Regions from separate parts of the Homo sapiens genome. Here region 2 is linked to region 1. Evidence: promoter capture Hi-C in 16 types of primary human blood cells and fetal thymus (Javierre and others, 2016). All regions are on one chromosome and are shown on one strand. Each heading gives the region's core, a stretch centred on a gene start or on the middle of the fragment in contact. The rest is flanking DNA. Distances are from core to core; before and after follow the strand shown.

What was found. Contacts are between HindIII fragments. The CHiCAGO score rates a contact against its expected background, and 5 or more counts as called.
Region 2: a contact is called between a fragment that was not itself captured here and the fragment with the promoter of CHRNA1 in region 1, in 1 of 17 cell types (M2 macrophages). The highest score is 6.5, in M2 macrophages.

What each region holds. Positions count from the first base shown.
Region 1 is chr2:174,763,077-174,765,776 of GRCh38, reverse strand. It overlaps CHRNA1 (cholinergic receptor nicotinic alpha 1 subunit), which reads left to right and starts at 1,305. Exons shown (of 9, transcript NM_000079.4): 1 at 1,305-1,425. The coding sequence starts at 1,383. RefSeq lists an enhancer at 805-1,304. The HindIII fragment of the contact is 3,214 bases long and covers 1-2,315 here.
Region 2 is chr2:176,092,723-176,095,422 of GRCh38, reverse strand. HOXD13 (homeobox D13) reads right to left here. Exons shown (of 2, transcript NM_000523.4): 1 at 1,752-2,700; 2 at 1-943. The coding sequence starts at 2,532. The coding sequence ends at 693. Among named protein-coding and RNA genes, the nearest start is that of HOXD13, 1.4 kb to the right of the region's middle. The HindIII fragment of the contact is 171 bases long and covers 1,205-1,375 here.

The DNA of each region.
Region 1 (2,700 bases), core at 56-2,555:
GTAGGTTTGTGAGTCTGAGAACATTTTTCCACTCATGCCACTGGCCAGAGGTCAGTCCCATGGCTCCATTTAGATGGAAGGGGCTGGTCAGAGGGTGGGGGTTGTATTTCTGCCACGGGGCTATTCCATGGAAGGGAGAGAACCAAATTTTTTTTTAGCAAACAGTTAACTGATCTCCCACAGTTTAAACAAAAAATATAAATAGTATGAGCTTGCAGCTCTCTCCTCTACCCTCCAAGCCCCTTCTCTAATGATTTGTTTGGATCCACTGGAATGAGAGGATCTGTCAGGATGTTGTTGTGGGCTTGAGGTGAGAGGACCTTTCTCACCTAGTTCCATGTGGGAAGGAGGCCTGGAAGGAACAGGCAGGGTACCTTTAAGTAACTGTCTCCTTCTGGGAACTCACCTCACACCCTGCAAAGAAGCACAGCTAGGGTAACAATACTTCTCAGACTGAGAAATTACTAACTGCTGGTTTTTAGGATGTTTTTCAAGCAAGATAATTGAAAAGCTGAACCACTCTGCTCTTTGCTTCCCTGAGTGAGAGTAGGCAGAGGGACGGATGGAAGGAGGCAGGAACCCGGAACGACTGCTGATGCGGTGGGACACTTTTTCCCAATAATTACTCTTCGCTTGAATCACAGTGCATAGGACGTGGGCAATTTGCTCCAGCTAATGGTTCGTGTGGGATAGGTATTGCCTGATACAGAGGCAGGGGTTGGAACAGCCACTCTGGGGGCCAGTAAAGCCAGTTTTATGGAAGAAGCTGTCTTTGTTAAAAACCAAACCCAATCAACGTGGGGGCTTCCCAGCAGCAGACTCAACACCAGCTACACTTTTCTGAAATCCAGGCAGTCAGAAAAGCCCCCGGCACCCTCAGCCTAACACTGAAGCAGAGGAAATGAAACTGAAGCCATGTTTGCAGAATGTGGATTTTTGTGGTTTAGGACAAACAGCTGACTATCTACTCAGACCAAATGACCCTAATCAAGTCAACCCACAGAGATGAGGTTCTGGTTTACACAAAAGAGAGGCAGTTTGCTCACCATTTAAAATAATTCCTTCCTTCCTATACATTTTTTTTTCATTAAGATCTGACTACTGGTGCATTTAAAATATAATGCAGTTCATACTCAGCTTGTCAAGGGTAAGCAATTGTGTAAAGTGAGGCATATCTGTAATGGTGTACAGTCCCAGTAACTCCCTGGGCTCCAGGGCTGAGGGCAGCCCAGCTGTCGCTCCCACAAACAGGTGGTGTAAAACAATAGCTCTAGTGAGCCGACTCGCTTTCCAAACCCTCCAGCAGACAAGCACCCAGCCAGAGTGCCAGTGAGAAGCACAGGCCACCACTCTGCCCTGGTCCACACAAGCTCCGGTAGCCCATGGAGCCCTGGCCTCTCCTCCTGCTCTTTAGCCTTTGCTCAGGTAAGTGCTGGGGTCAGGGGTGGGGAGAGGGCTCTCCTTTGAGGCTAAAGTGCTGGAGGCCCCCAAATCAAAGTCTTGCTTCTTTGATGAGACCACAGAATGGCAGAGCCTCCCCAACCAGGGGCTGCTCTGTCAGTTTCTTCCTGATGTTAGCTTGATTGAGTTTTTGGATAAAGATTTTTAGTTTGCCTTATCTAATTAAAATAGAAACTGCCTGGTCAAAGACTTCAAGATAGACACGCATGTCTCTCCCTCCATCATGCCTGGCAGCCGACTCATCCCTCTGAACACTCGGCACCATTTGTAGGACCTGGACCACTTGTGGATCATGGTAGTGTCCGGGGGTTCATATTTAAACAACTATGGATACTTAGAACAGTGCCTTATAATCACATACAATGGAGTTAACAAGTCCCTTTACTGCTCCAGGAGAATTCTAATAATAAAGAGGACTGATTGACAGCTACATGTGCTGGAGATAGAAACCAGTTAATAATCATAACTAAACTCTCTCCACAGAGACAAATATTTTTTAATTTTTTCAAAATTTCTGAAGTTAAAAAAAATTCCATATGAATACATTCCTACCTACTTTTTTTTTTTAAGATGTTACTATATATAGGTTTGGGTTTGAATTGAAACTATAAAACCTTGCACAGCATTTGACCTGCATTCTACTCTGGAATGTGTCCTAACACAGCAGCTGAAACACCATCCTGAATCCCAGACTTCCGCTAGAGGGAAACAGGAGATGTTTGCTGATTGCTTCACATAAAAGTTTACTGGTGATATCATCCCAACTGAGAAACAAGGTGGCTGACATCCTGTGATTTTTCATTTCCAATATTGCTCTGAAAAACACAGGCCTTCTGGTCAAGAGGCAAAAAGCTTTATTATTAATTTTTTTCAATATCAGAGTTGAGTGAAAGAGCCTAAACTCAGATAAATTATATCATGTGGGATTTGGACTCTGTCCAGCCAAAGCTGGCCTGATGTGTGTGTGTGTGTGTGTGTGTGTGTGCGCGCGCGTGCACACACATGCGTGCACGCAAAACCACAGTCACAGGAAAATTCTTAAATGATATGCTTTAATGTAAACATCCTTAAGAGATCTCTTAGGATTTTGGTTATTGCTAACCAAAAATGCATGATTAGCTATTAAAGAAGTATGTGATATGTATTTAGGTCAAATCTCGAGTTTGCTGGCATTGATTTCCATGGGTGTTTTATAGAAATTTAGAGCTAGATCAGGCAGTCCAACATCCTCAATTTTTT
Region 2 (2,700 bases), core at 41-2,540, 1.3 Mb before region 1:
GAAAACACAAACCTACAAAGTGTTAAAAACAAACAATTAAAACAGCAAGTGAAACACCCAAAGTTGGAAAGATTGTCTTCATTTCAATATTGATACAATCCCTATTTAATAAGGTGGCCATTTTTAAAGCCATCACAGTACCTTCAGCCTCCTGTTTTTAGACTTTCTCGGTGACCCCAGAGCACTGCCTGCCTTTCCACTTGCCTCAGGGCAACTGCTGAGAGCTAATGATTCAATTACCTAATTACAGGATATGAACGACTGAAAACCATTCTGTCCTAATGGATTATGAAGATAATCAGTGCTGGGAATGAACAAATAAAGTAATTTTTTAAAAAAACCCTTAAATCAGAATGGCACTTCTGAAGTTCATTGGGGGGCGGATTATTAAAAAATACTTCAAGTCCCTTTATACTGGCCTGGAGGGAGAAACAAAACATTAAAAACAGATATTTTAAAAACCCTAGGCAAGAACAAAACCAATAATAAACAAGTAAAAATCAGAACTACAAAGTCAGGTTGGGCAGCAGAAGGTTTTAGAGCCAGATAAGGGGAAGAGAGAAAAACAATTCACAAAATTTGCCACCATTGGCAGGGGGTGGGGGGAATTAAATACATATTCAAGTCTTTCCAAAGGCCTTTTGGAGACAACCGAATGGCTTCTAAGCTGTCTGTGGCCAACCTGGACCACATCAGGAGACAGTATCTTTGAGCTTGGAGACAATTTTCTTGTCCTTCACTCTTCGGTTCTGAAACCAAATGGTCACTTGTCTCTCAGATAGGTTCGTAGCAGCCGAGATACGCCGCCGCTTGTCCTTGTTAATGAATTTGTTAATGGCATACTCGTTCTCCAGTTCTTTAAGCTGCAGTTTGGTGTAAGGCACTCTCTTCTTCCTCCCTCTTCGGTAGACGCACATGTCCGGCTGATTTAGAGCCACATCCCCTGATACAAACAAAAGCACAAGAAAAATTAGGCTGGGATATTCGGAGCACCTAGCTGAGGATTGTGTGTGTGTGTGTGTGTGTGTGTGTGTGTGCGTTTGCAGGGGTGCAGGAAATTTTTAAAAAATGCCATGCTGTTTGGTCTTTATTATGTACATAGACATAACACTTACCTGTTATTAAAGAAGGATTATTTGCACTTAACAACAATGGTTAATTTGATTGATTATCATAGTTTCTCAAACCGGCATCTTAACAAGCTTGCAATTTTATGGTGTGGTTATTGGGCACGTTCATGAGGACAGTTTCTGCAAATGTCGGTTGTATAAAAACAAACTTACATACATAGACACATACCAACTCAGGTCTTTTGCTCAAATTTTGATTTCCCGCGTTCCTATGTTAGGAGTTCGTGAGCTTGATCTAACAAGCTTTAGTAGTCATCTTGGGGCAGTGATGTCTTTGAAAATGGGGGGACCCAACTCTGTCAGGTTTCTTAGGAAAAAGTTCTCTTTAGGAGAAAAGGGAGAGGCCCAAGGAAAGGGCACGCAGAGACTCTCAACTTTAGGAGAAAAACGTGTCTGCGCTGCACACAGGAAAGAAAGGGCAGTGACGGAGGCAGTTGAAATCAGAGGAGGAATTTACAGATTTCACACGAACTGGACAAATTTCCACTGGGTTAACCCTGGTCACGTGTGGAGCACAGGCACAACTCCCACTCCCAAGTAGGGGCGCATACTCTTAGTCCTTTCTTTTCTCCTTCTCTCTCCCCCTCCCTCGTGTCGGTCCCTTTTCTCCATCGCCCCTACCTGGAAAGGAAGATTTCCAAAAGTGGGACCCCTGTGGCTGGTCCTTGGTGCAGTACACCTGGCTGTTCCACCCGTTAGCCAGCGTCCAGGACTGGTACCCCTCCATGGAGATGTAGGCCTCGTGCCGAGGCTCCCCGGAGCCGAAAGTGGACACCATGTCGATATAGCCGGGCACGTGCTGGTAAGGGCTCGTATAGCCCTGGTAGAAGGATACCTCCTTGGCTCGCGCTGGCACCTCGTTGGCCGGTACGCTGCTGCTCGCCAGGCCTGACACGTCCATGTACTTCTCCACGGGAAAGCCTCCCAGCGAGGCGTGCGGCGATGACTTGAGCGCATTCTGCTGTAAGCCCACGCCGTGCGACATACGGCAGCTGTAGTAGCCGTTGCCGAAGTGGTAGCCGTAGCCCAGCGCTGGAGCGCTCGGGGGCGCTGCAGCGGCCGCTGCAGGCGTGGGTGCTGGGCACTCTTTGGCTGGGGGAGCCTCCGGGCGCGCCGCTACAACGGCAGAAGAGGACGACGACGAGGAAGAGCCCGTGCGCTCAGAGGTCCCGGGGTACGCAAAGCCGGAGGCTGCCGCCGCCGCCGCCGCAGCCGCCGCTGCCGCCGCCGCCGCCCGCCCCGAATGCGTCCCGGCGAACACAGGCGCGGAGAGAAAGCCGCGGCACTGGCCTGACGCCGCCGCCGCCGCCACCGATGAGGAGGAGGAAGAGGCCGGGGCGCCACCGGCGCCCCCGCCGTCTGCCCGCAGCCCGTCCATGTCCCAGCTCCCGGCGCGGCTCATGGCCCGGCCTGGCCCGGCCCCGGCCCTGGCCCTGGCCCCGCGCAGGACACCATGGCGCGGCGCGCCTCCTCCCTCCTCTCCTTTCTCTCTGGTTCGCTCGCTCCCGCCCTCTTCCTCTAGCCCTCTCTCCCTCTGTGAGCCTCCCGCCTCCGGCCCGCCTGCCCTCCA